Linked DNA regions of Homo sapiens: region 1 is linked to region 2. Evidence: promoter capture Hi-C in 16 types of primary human blood cells and fetal thymus (Javierre and others, 2016). All regions are on one chromosome and are shown on one strand. Each heading gives the region's core, a stretch centred on a gene start or on the middle of the fragment in contact. The rest is flanking DNA. Distances are from core to core; before and after follow the strand shown. Region 1 overlaps ENPEP (glutamyl aminopeptidase). Region 2 holds the start of PLA2G12A (phospholipase A2 group XIIA).

Region 1 (6,886 bases), core at 508-3,007, 810 kb before region 2:
GTGATATTTGCTTTATTGCGTGGCTTGGCACCAAAACTGCAGTATCTCTCAGGTATGCCTGTGGCTTTAATATGTAACATGCAATGAATAGGAAACTGGAAAAATGCAACCCAATTATCATGAGGAAAGATTACAATTAGCAATAATTTTGGTAGTTGAAAAAAAATAACTGCAAAGGAGAGTTGGGTAGTGAAGATCTGTCAATGTGTCTCCAGTGTGCCCATGGAAGTAGGTGCCAAATTGAGCTGGAACATGTGTTTCAGGCTATTTGACAGGTCTGGTCCTACAGAAAACAGTGTATGTGACAGAGACCTACTAGTTGTTTACCACACAGTTCCCTTTTCTTCCTGGGTACAGAATTGGACTATGTTAGCCTTCCTTGCAGGACATGATTTGAGAACTGGCTATAAAATGTGGGCAGAAGTAATAGATGCACTTCTAGGCCTGATTCCTTCATTATCTTCCCCTGTCTTTGAGCTAGATGCAAAAGAACCAGTGAGGGATTCCAAGATGCAGGGGATGGTAAAGCCATAAGAAGGAAGAAGACAGGATTTCCAAGTCATTATTTGGTGGAGAGCCACCTAGGAAAGATGACAGTCAGGAATATCTCCTTTAGACTGTTGCATGAACAAGAAACTTTTATTGCACCAAACCACTATTGATTGTTTCTAAAGTGCAATAATTAGACTCACCTGGCTAATGCAATATATCACACTATCACAATTTAAAGACATCTGTAAAATAATTAATCTACCTTAACTCTTCCTTAATTCTTTTTTTTTTTTTTTTTTTTTTTTTTGAGACAGAGTTTCACTCTTGTTGCCCAAGTTGGAGTGCAATGGTGCAATCTCGGCTCACTACAACCTCCGCCTCCCGGGTTCAAGCAATTCTCCTGCTTCAGCCTCCCGAGTAGCTGGCATTACAGGCAGCTATGTATAAAAAAGTATATATGTTAACTAAAATAATTTATTACTAAAAATGCTAACAATCATCTGAGCCTTCAGCCAGTTGTAATCTTTTTTACTGATAGAGGGTCTTGCCTCAGTGTTGATGGCTATGCCTGGCTAACTTTGTATTTTTTCAGTAGAGACGGTGTTTCTCTATGTTGGTCAGGCTGGTCTCGAACTCCCGACCTCAGGCGATCCACCTGCCTTGGCCTCCCAAAGTGTTGGGATTACAGGCGTGAGCCACCGCGCCCAGCCCTTTAATTCTTACTAAGTAACTTGCTTCCTGGAAAGAGATACCTAATTAGGTGACATGAGTATTCAGATTCACTAACTAGTATATTTTAACTGTGTAAATTAACAAGTTAGCATTCTTAGTTAATCTCTTGTATGTTTGGTTTAGATAAGTAGATCTTCCAAGACTTGGTTGACTAGGGCTGAACTGACAAATTGAGTTTCTAAACCAGCAAAACTGAACCCATAATCATCCAATCAAAGCTTGCACATTCCATGAGGCTTAGCTTGAAAAAATGAAGAAAGTGCTTCCCTCTTTGTCATCAAATACAAAAATACATGCCCATCATTATTTTGGTATTAAATATTTATGTATAATTATCACAGATGTTTAGTAAATCTATTTCTATAGAAACTGACTGGACAGTCTGGATAGTCCAAACCATCCAGAGGACACCCTCAAATCTGGAAGTAAGAGTTGCAAAAACAGCTATTGTAGAGTCCGCACCACCTCCTAGAACTTAGACCCAGCCCAGATCCTATGCACTTAGAAATGTCTCTTTTAAAATATTATGTTTTAGCAAGATTGGTTACCTGACACCATATAACAACCTTCAATCCTTCTAAATGTTAGAAAGCAGTAAATTAAATGCAAACAGGTGGTATGCTACTAAATGTGGATGCATTAACAATAGCCAAAATAGCAGCTGATACTAAAAGATGGAGACATAACTAAAATATATGCAGTTAACCTCTAAAAGTACAGCATTCTGGGGCAAACAACCCTTCATTAAACTAGGACTTTCTGAACTCAGAATGTACGTAGCACCTTGTTGATAATAGGGTGGACAGGAGACAAGAAATATGTGTAGTTTGTGTCATCAAGAAGCTTATAATTTAGTTGAGAAAAAAAAAAGAGAGGCCAGGCGCGGTGGCTCATGCCTATAATCCCAGCACTTTGGGAGGCTGAGGCAGGTAGATCACCTGAGGTCTGGAGTTCAAGACCAGCCTGGCCAACATTGTGAAACCCCATCCTTACTAAAAATACAAAAAAATATCCAGCTGAGGTGGCAGGCACCTGTAATCCCAGCTACATGGGAGGCTGAGGCAGGAGAATCACTTGAACCCAGGGGGCGGACGTTGCAATGAGCTGAGATCGCTCCACTGCACTCCGGCCTGGGCAACAAGAACAAAACTCTGTCCCAAAAAAAAAAAAAAAAAAAAGAAACAACGAAAAGAGAGAACATATGAAGCTTAATAACAATGATTTTGTTTAAAATATAAAGTAATAATACTAGGAATAAGGGCTGATGAAAGTGACAGGATAAAATATACTATATTTTATGACAGGAGATGATGACAGGAGAGATTATTCAGGGTAACTGGAGTAGCCAGAAAATGTTTTATAATAGAGGTTCTCTTCTTTCATTAGAAATTATGAGTTTAGTTGTTGTTTTAACGCCTAAAATAGCACATACAATAGAAATGTAAATAAAAGACCTTGGGGAGAGTCCCACTATTGCCTGAAGAATTTCTAACTAATGAATCATCAAAGAAACCAAGAGGAGGGAGGTAGGACTGGTAACATGAGCTGGTTGCCCATTTAGTACACTCAGGACATGTTCGTCATCCGTGCTCTAAGCTGAGAGCTGAAGATGTCCTTAAACAGGAAACAGGAACTTATTGTACAGCCTAAAAATGGAGCAGACACTTTGAAGTAGAAAAAGACCTCTAGTTTGCTTCTGGCTCAGTGACCAGACATGATTCTGAAGTTTCAGATAAAGGCAGATTTGTCATCAAAGCTCTGTAACTATCAGCCTCTTCATTTATTTGTTTATTCATTCATTTATTCAATAAACAATTATTAGATGCCTGCTGTAGATCCAGAACAACAATAACAAATAAGCTCCATTTCCTCTAAGAATATTCTGTGGGGAGGGGAGACATAGATAGGTCAATAGTTAGAACAAAAAAATGTGTGAAATGTATTGACAAAGGGATACGAAGGAGTGTGAGAACTCCCTGCTCTTTCACTTTCACAGTCATGCTTCTGTCCAGAGCACACGTCTCCTCTACATTCAATTTTTATCACCCATTTATACTCTATCCTTAGCCTCTGAACTCTCAGCCTAGATATTTTTTAGGAATGCTTCCTGAACCCCCAAACCTGGGCTGATGCTTCTATGAGTGCTTTTGGTGATCTGCATTGCCACAGAGGCACTTAGGACACAGCATTATGTCTGCCTGCAAACCCATCCCTAGACAACCATCTACACAAGGGTTAGGATTGCTTTTTTTTTTTTTTTTTGCTCCAGCACTGCCCCCATTCTTATCTCTGTGTTTTGCACATAAGCAATACGTGCTTGAAAGAATTAATCTAGTAATTAAGGATTAAATTTATTATTCCAAATATTCTAAGGAGTACATAACACATATTAGAACAATGTCTATTGTGAACTCTTGAAATGCATTTTACAAAGCACTTGAGTAAGCTTTAGTTATCTGGAAAATTCACTTGTATGGAAACTTCATTCCATGAAAGTGCTGGGTGAATTGTACTAGGGTAGATGAATTATTCACGCTTTCAAACTTGTAAACAGTAAATCAAACAGCTGCCGAGATATTCTTCCAATCCTCAATTAACTATGGTGACCAATGGGGAAAATATTTAGTAATAGTTAAACCAAATCCACTGAAAACCTTCCAGTGGAATTCTAACGTTCTTATTATGTCTTTTACCAGTGCTGTTACACATTGTTGAAAATGTCTTTTTTTTTTCTGTCTTCTCCCTTTTCCTCTGGCAAGTGTACTTATGAATAAGAAAATGGTCAGAAGACCACAAAAGATAGAGCCTCGCATTGAAACACAGCATAAAATACTAAAACAAAGTGGCATTGATCTGGGAATTCTGCAAAAATTTAGAATTTTTTTTGATCACGATATTACAATAATTATTAACATAAATAAGCAAGAGAGAGTTTTGTTGTAATAGCAATCCCTGTGCAGAAGGGCTTCAGAAGGATTTCACCTCTATAATGACAAAGCTGGTAGTTTGTAGTAATAGTAAAAAAAAATCACAAAAACTGTTAACAATAAACGTTTTTTTTTAAAAGGCCCAAAGGTGGAAAAAACATGCTGGATCCACAGAAAAACTTATACACAAATGTTTATAGCAGCATTATTCATAACAGACAAAAGGTGGAAATGATCCAAATATCTATCAACTGATAAATGGATAAACAAATGGTGGTATATCCATATAATGGGATATGATTTGGCAATAAAAAGGAATGAAGTAGAGTTACATGCTATATCATGGATGAGCCTTGAAATCGTTATGCTAATTGAAAAGTCACAAAATACTGCATATACACTTTTATTTATGTGAAATGACCAGAAGAGACAAATCTATAGAGGTAGGGAATACATTAGTGGTTGCTTAGGGCTGGGCATATGGGAGGCTGCAGGCATGACAGCTAAAGGGTATGGGGTTTCTAAAACTGACTGTGGTGATGATTACACATCTGTGAATACACTAAAAAACACTGGATTGTACACTTTAAATAGGTGAATTTTATGGTATGTGAATTATATCTCAGTAAAGCTGTTCTTAAAAGGCAATCTACTGGAAACAGAGTAAAAATTTATTGGCCAGGAGAAATCATACCTCATTAATATTTTAAAATATTTTACATGAGCAACTAGGCATATGTAAATAAAGAATGAGTGATCTACTTTTATCTTCAAGAAGACACAAGTGAAAGTCCATACCAAATACTATTCTAAATCAAGTCCTCATGAAATGGGGCAAAGATGAGTCTGGTTTGTCTTAGAAAAGAAATAGTTTTGAAACACCAAAACAAATACAATGGAAAAAATATAAAAAGAAGGATTCTTTCCAAGATTGCAGCTAAAGCTTGCCTTATCTATTATTTTTTTCATCAATCTGGAATTTCGTGAGAAGGTTTACTTGTTTTTATACAACTCTAACATTTTTCAAGTAAGGAAAAAATAAATCAGTGCAGATAGAACACAAATATATTTCCAAAAAATGGTCTAATTTAATGGGAGCATTAAAAAAATCCTCAGGCTTGTCATATAACAGTTAAAGAAATTCAATGGCTTATCTGATAAAAGAAAAAACAAAAAGGAAGGAAGGAAGGAAGGAAACTTACACATTGATCTTCCAATTGTTGGGCATGCGACCCTTCTCCTTTGGATATGGGTATTTATGATAAATCAGTCAGTCAAGATAAATCATTGAAAAGAATATCTCAAGGTATAACAGTTCTGATTGTAGATGAAGATTTGGAATCATCAATAAATTATTTAAGAGATCACTTAGCTGAAGTTTACATAAGTTCCAGCTTTACTGTTGCATCTTTATACTTATATTAGTTTAATGTGGTACATCAATTCAAAGAAGAAATAAATCAATTAATAATATTTACCTTCTTTTTCTGACCTATTAAATAACACACTGCTTGTTATATTATCTTCAGTCCATTTAACTGGGATATTCCATGTATAACTAAAATTTTTTTAAAAAGAAAAATTTAACTTTTATTACTAAAAGATAAAATTTCAAGAGTAAAAATCACTAAAAAGCAATAGACAAGTATATTTTTCTTTTAAATGATTATCTAGTCCATACTACACAATTAATGTAGTTAATACAACATTTTAGTGATGAAGATAAGCTGTGTAACTGTTCTCAATTTCTATAAATCTATAAAATTTAGAAATTGCATCAAAAATTAGCTAAGCATGAAAAAGATTATTTCAATAACATGCTTTGGCATTTTAGAATAAAGATATTGCATAAATTACACAAATATAATACATCTTATTATAATATTGAACATTCACACACATACTTGCACACAGTCTAATATGCTACCATTTCCATCAAGGAACACAAAACATTTTTAGAAATTAGAAGACAAATAGTAAACTCTGTGAAGGAAATAACACATTTTAGAAATTATGCTGAAAGTCTACCACCACCATCATCCCCTAAAGCCTCTCATACCCTCCCCTAAATATCCCCTATTTAGAACTAGAACTGAAGTGCTCAAGGGAAGAATCATCAGGTAAGCATGTTTCAGGAGTTTTCAGTGCTTCTCTTTAGCTACTTAGTATTTTCCTGCAGAGTGGGTAGGTGGGAGTTAACTTTGTATTTTGATATATACACTTAACAGTTTTGTCTTGAAATCTCATTTTTTTTGGTTTGTTCTTATATCATCTCATATCAGAAAATGCAGATCTGGAGAGAAGGTGAATCTACGTACCATTGGCTGGTTTAGGTTTCAACTCAAAGTTGGTTTATCTGTCAACATTCAATTCCCTAACAGAGAATTAGGGTTAACATTTCACCTTTTCAAGATATAACAAAATGTATGTCATTCAAGGAGAATATATTTTTGCTATATACCTGAAAGAAGTAATCCCTTGTTTTATAACTATTGAAGTGTTTTACAGGATTGAGTTTTTTTAAAATCAGCTCCTTTGGAGCATTTTACTGCAGTGGAATGTTTTTGGCTATACGTTTCATAAAACCAACACATAAATTGCTTCTTGGGCCTTATAGTGGACACTGTCAGTGCTTCCTCCTTATCTCCTTAGACCCCTTTCTCTCTTTTTTTTTCTTTTTAGACGGAGTTTCATTCTTGTTGCCCAGGCTGGAGTGCAATGGCACGGACTCGGCT
Region 2 (6,157 bases), core at 3,644-6,143:
AGAAAAGAAAGCCAGTCTTGGCCACCCAGAATCTCCCATTCCAAGGTATTTATTAATATATCATTCAGACAAGAATAAGCACAAATATAGTATATTTTATATTTTCATAATTTATTTTGATATTCACTGTAATTGCATTTCTTTTCTTTTCTTTTTTCTTAGACAGACTGTTGCTCTGTTGCCCAGGCTGGAGTGCAGTGGCACGATCTCAGCTCACTGCAACCTCCACCTCCTAGGTTCAAGCAATTCTCCTGCCTCAGCCTCCCGAGTAGCTGGGATTACAGGCACCTGCCACCACGCCCAGGTAATTTTTTTGTATTTTTAGTAGAGACAGGATTTCACCATATTGGCCAGGCTGGTCTCGAACTCCTGACCGTGTGATCTGCCCGCCTTGGCCTCCCAAAGTGCTAGAATTACAGGCATGAGCCACTGCGTCCTGCCTGTAATCGCCATTTCTAATTCTTTTCTTCCTCTGACTACAACTGTGTTTTCTCCCTAGTACTTCAATGAGACTCTTGTGAAGTTCACCAATAACCCCCAAGTTACTAAATCTAGTAGTCAATATCCGGCCCTCACCTTCCTCATATCAGCAGAATGGGTGGTTCTGTCTTTCTTTGACACACCAGAATATAGCACTTTTCCACTTCTGCTGCACTTGGCTGCTCCTTCTTAAGCGCCTTTGTTCTTTTTTCCTTGACCTCCTAAGACTTAGACCTTGCTCTGCTTCTTTGTGTACACTCACTTTTTAGAGGATCTCATTTAGTCCCATGTTATTTATTTATTCATTTATTTAAGACAGGGTCTTGCTCTGTTGCCAGGCTGGAGTGCAATAGCGCAATCTTGGCTCTCTGCAACCTCTGCATTCCGGACTCAAAGGATCCTCTTACCTCAGCTTCCCAAGTAGCTGGGACTACAGGCATGTACCACCATGCCTGGCTAATTTTTGTATTTTTTTTATAGAGATAAGGTTTTGCTATGTTACCCAGGCTGCTCTTGAACTCCTGGACTCAGGCGATCTGCCAGCCTTGATCTCCCTAGGTGCTGGGACTACAAGCATGAGTCACTGCGCCCAGCTAAGCCCCATGACTTTAAAAGCCATTTCTATTCTGACAACTTCCCAATGCGTTTCTAACCTTTATGCTGAACTGCAGACTCAGAATAAGCTTCTTGGATATGGTATGACTGAAATTTATTTTTAAAATTTTCCCGCAAAACCCTCTCCTTCCACAATTCTCCCCATTTCTGACAGTTAGAACTCTCTCTATCCTGTGGCTTAGGCCAAAATTTCAATGCCATCCTTGATTCCTCTTTTTCTCTCATATTCAGTCCATCAGCAAATCCCTTCTGCTCTACCATCAAGTTACATCTAGAATATGACCACTTTTCACACCTCCACTGCTCCTTTCCTGGACCAAGCCATACTTATGCCATACCTAGATTACTGTATCATAACTGACTTCCTATCTTCAGCTTCTGCCCACCACAAAGTATATATAGACAAGCTAGCCACTCTCTAGCAGGAAAGACCTGGAACACAGCTGTGGATTTGCAACTAATGATGTCTGTCATGAAAATAACAGGTTTTGCTGGTTAGATGAAAGTGTCCTGTAAAGAAGGCTCTTTTCAAACAGTTTATGCCAAAATTTGGGAAGAAAAGATGGAAGTGGGTCATCTAGAAGTTACGTGAGATGAGCTGGGCACAGTGGCTCATGTTGTAATCCCAGCACTTTGGGAGGCCAAGGCAGGGGAATGACTTGAGGTCAGGAGTTCGAGACCAGCCTGGCCAACTTGGTGAAACCCCATTGCTACTAAAAATACAAAAAATTAGTCAGGTGTGGTGGCGGGCACCTGTAATCCCAGCTACTCGGGAGGCTGAGGCAGGAAAATAGCTTGAACCTGGGAGGCGGAGGTTGCAGTGAGCTGAGATTGTGCCACTGTACTCCAGCCTGGGCAACAGAGCCAGACTCAAAAAAAAAAAATTTATATGATATGGTAAATCAGAGCATGCATCCTGTGTAGTGGCACAAGGCCCCACAGTCAAAAGGGCTCTGTACTTATTTTAATGCTCTGCTGTTATCACCTTGAAATTCTTTTTTTTTTTTTTTTGAGACAGAGTCTTGCTCTGTGGCCTCGGCTGGAGTGCAGTGGCACGATCTTGGCTCATTGCAAGCTCTGCCTCCCGGGTTCACGCCATTCACCTGCCTCAGCCTCCCGAGTAGCTGGGACTACAGGTGCCCGCCACCATGCCCAGCTAACTTTTTGTATTTTTAGTAGAGACAGGGTTTCACCGTGTTAGCCAGGATGGTCTCGATCTCCTGACCTCGTGATCTGCCCATCTCAGCCTCCCAAAGTGCTGGGATTACAGGCGTGAGCCACCGCACCCGGCCATCACCTTGAAATTCTTAATTTTTGAGCAAGGGGCTCTGTATTTTTATTTTGCACTGAGCCCTACAAATTATACAGATAGTCTGTGGTCAGTGCAGATCCCTGGTATTTAACAGCATCAATTAAGAGGAAAACGTAAACCTTGTAATTACTGCAGCAGAACAACAAATATATAATGATTAAATGTGAAAAGAATGTGAAAATAAAACTTAGAGTCTTGTTTTCTACAAAAATGGTGGTGATTCTCATGGGGAAGACAGTGGAAAGATTTGCTTGAGAGAAAGAGAACAGCTGCATCAAGCCAGAAGAACTGGCATTTGAGAATTTAATCCCTAAGGAGAGATCAGACAAAGAAAACTACGTCTGATTCCTCAGAGTATAGGCTGTAGTTAAGGTGTAAGAAATTAGATGAGATCACAAAGAAGTAAATAAATAGAGAAAGTGGGGGAAAGGAGAGGCTTTGGGTCATAACTGAGGGCTGGAACTAGGTTATTTTATTACATTCTATCCTTTCTTTTGAAAGTCTTGTCCCTGGACTAGGGAGTTGTAAGAACCAAGCCTGGTTTAAGGATTCAGGTGGTGGTATCTCAGAGGTAATCTAGTCCAACTTTCATACTTTGGAGCTGAGAAACCAATGTTCCAGAAAGCTAAGACAATGATTCTAAGTTCCCTTTTTAAAATGTATTGAAATGTGTTGTCTAAAAATTAAAAAATAAAAATATCTGTGGTATTTTGTGAAGACAGAGGCCTTGGTTTGGAGTAGATACTGTCACATGACTTCTCACCTCGACTCTTTTATTGTAAAAGAGGAAGATAATAATACCTTCCAGGGAACATTCTTCCCCCTTCTCCATTGTGGTAGGAATTAATCACTGCCCAAGACTCCTGGTTGAGGGGCTGAGTGAAGTGCAGGCAGTCTCCAGCCAGGAGCTACACCGTTTGTTGGGCTACCCTGTTTGTAGGGAGGAATGCCTTTCTATGTTTCTAACTTGCCCAAAGTCTGCATCCTTGTAAAGTAGTGTTCTGAATGTGAGCGATCATATTCATGAAGTGCCTGGCACATAGTAAGCACTCAATAAAGAGGGATGTAATTTTTATGAACTGTGCACTGAACGTTTATTATAAGCTCATTTAGTTTGTAACAAACACAAAAGGCCAAACCTAGAACTTATTGGTAATTCTTATAGAAAGGACACACCTATGCCCAATACTTACTCACTTTCTTTTTTTTTTAGAGTCTCGCTCTGTGCCCCAAGCTGGAGTGCAGTGGTGCAATCTCAGCTCACTGCAACATCCATCCACCTCCTGGGTTCAAGTGATTCTCCTGCCTCCGCCTCCCGAGTAGCTGGGATTACAGGTGCCCGCCACCACGCCCAGCTAATTTTCTGTATTTTTGGTAGAGATGGGGTTTCACCATGTCAGCCAGGCTGGTCTCGAACTTCTGACCTCAGGAGTTCCAGGCCTCCCAAGGTGCTGGGATTACAGGCGTAAACCACCGCGCTTGGTCTGCCCAATACTTTCAACATTGCTCTGGATCTTACTGTAAAATTCTTGGAAACTGCTGTGATACTAAGATAACCAGATATTTACAACTGATACAAAGTACTACTGCAATAGTTATTTATGGATCCCGCACAATGCTGGGGGCAGGGTGGTAGGTACAGAGAAACAAACGTCACTGTAACTATCAAGTTACAAAATCCCTTGAGTAGAAAAACAATGACTTCCTTAAGATTTATTTTACTTTTTACTGTATTTAAGTTTACACTACTGTTTCTTCCTTACCAGGGGAGAATTTTATGATTTTTATGTTGGCCCATTTTCTTTTTCCGGAAAGTCTAAACTAGCATTTAGCTCGTCCTGATTAGAGTCAGGCACCGCCAAGGCATGGGTTGGCATCTTCCAGATCCCGCTCCCCCAACCGCGGCCACAGCAGATCTGGAGGACCGGGAGAGGACGCAAGGAGGAAAAGCCCTGCTCTGCGAGCTGACAGCCGGACTCTGCCCACATTGCCAATGGAACCACGTCTTCAAGCCGGAAACTCAGCTGGACCTCTCGCAGCGCTCTCTGCGAGGGGGCACAGGGGTTATTTTCTCCGATGTTGTCCACACCCAGAAAAGCTTGTCTCTCGGGGCTACTGTGCTGAGCCCCGACTGGTCAGGTTAGGCCACCGGGGTTAGCTCTGCAACTCTTGCTTCACGGTTAACAGCCCGGAGAGCTTTCTTAAAAAATACCGACGCCCACTGCCACCTGGGACAACGTAATCAGGCTCCCTAGAAAAGGGGCTCAGGCCTGGGTACTTTTTAAGGTTCTCTTGTGAACCAGGACCAAGGGTCTTGGGAGGGTGCCGCGGAGACCACGTGGGCATGGAGGCCCCGCCCCCGTTTCCCGCCCCGCGCGCCCCTCCCCCGGTTCCCCGCCCCCCCCAACCCCGCCCCCGCCCCGCCCCACCCCTGCGCGTCCCGCCCCTCCCGTGCGCCGCTGACGCGCCGTGCTCCGGCGCAGGCGCACAGGGGACGGTTGCTGGCCCAGGTGAGCGGGCGCGCTGGTCCAGGTGAGCGGGCGCGTCCCCGCGACGGCGCTGCCTGCCCGAGGCGGTTCACGTAAAGACAGCGAGATCCTGAGGGCCAGCCGGGAAGGAGGCGTGGATATGGAGCTGGCTGCTGCCAAGTCCGGGGCCCGCGCCGCTGCCTAGCGCGTCCTGGGGACTCTGTGGGGACGCGCCCCGCGCCGCGGCTCGGGGACCCGTAGAGCCCGGCGCTGCGCGCATGGCCCTGCTCTCGCGCCCCGCGCTCACCCTCCTGCTCCTCCTCATGGCCGCTGTTGTCAGGTGCCAGGAGCAGGCCCAGACCACCGACTGGAGAGCCACCCTGAAGACCATCCGGAACGGCGTTCATAAGATAGACACGTACCTGAACGCCGCCTTGGACCTCCTGGGAGGCGAGGACGGTCTCTGCCAGTATAAATGCAGTGACGGTGAGGGGGCACCCGGGCCCAGCGAGGGCTCGTGCTTTCGGGGGATTGGGGTGACGGAGATCCTGGAGGTGTGAGTGACAGATGCAAGGCAGACCTTGACGGTGTCCTTCGGCTGTGGAAAAACTTAACCACTGCTAGAATCTTGCCGTTCTAGTGATTGAGCAAGCTGGGTACAAGTTCGCACCACTATTGTTAGAATGTGAGAGGTCACATTCTAACGGAGAGGTGTACCCCCCGTCCCATTTGCATTGCTTCTGAATTACCTTTTCCCCCCCTCAATTGCACCAAGTTGCCGAAGAACTTACTGACGTAGGAATCATGGGAATAGAGTGGAACAGACTGGTTTTAGCTCATTTTTGCTTCTGTAAATTGGATGAACATGCGAAGCAAACTGAGAATTTAAAAACCATGCCGTATTAACTTTCTCTATAATTGATATTAAATGGTTTTTTTTCTGCAAACCCATAGACAATAACTTGCGACCTTTGTACAGACTTTTGGTGTACTCGAGTGTTGAGAAAGGGTTCCGATAACTCTTCTTTCCTTAGATATCAGTGACCCGCCTCCTCCTCATTGTTGGTTAACGTTAATACAGTTATCTTCATTTACTCTTTTAATATTTTTTGAACTTTCTCTTTGAACCTGAGAATTTGTTTGGTGGCGGTATGAGTACTAATCAACTCAGTATTTCAGGCAGAGATAGTTCTTTTGTAGCACATTTTTGAGTGCTTAAATATTTTAATAGGTCAGAAAAATATTGGACTTTTGTTTGGAAATTGAAAATGTTAAGAGAGCA

The links. The method cuts DNA at HindIII sites, captures the fragments that hold promoters and counts their contacts. A CHiCAGO score of 5 or more calls a contact.
Region 1: a contact is called between a fragment that was not itself captured here and the fragment with the promoter of PLA2G12A in region 2, in 1 of 17 cell types (monocytes). The highest score is 5.0, in monocytes.

Annotation. Positions count from the first base shown.
Region 1 is chr4:110,530,021-110,536,906 of GRCh38, reverse strand. ENPEP (glutamyl aminopeptidase) reads right to left here. Exons shown (of 20, transcript NM_001977.4): 11 at 5,630-5,709. Among named protein-coding and RNA genes, the nearest start is that of ENPEP, 57 kb to the right of the region's middle. The HindIII fragment of the contact is 625 bases long and covers 1,445-2,069 here.
Region 2 is chr4:109,728,806-109,734,962 of GRCh38, reverse strand. PLA2G12A (phospholipase A2 group XIIA) reads left to right here and starts at 4,893. Exons shown (of 4, transcript NM_030821.5): 1 at 4,893-5,361. The coding sequence starts at 5,154. It also overlaps a transcript of CFI not described here. RefSeq lists enhancers at 3,899-4,775, 5,435-5,504 and a silencer at 4,765-5,104. The HindIII fragment of the contact is 6,805 bases long and covers 4,508-6,157 here.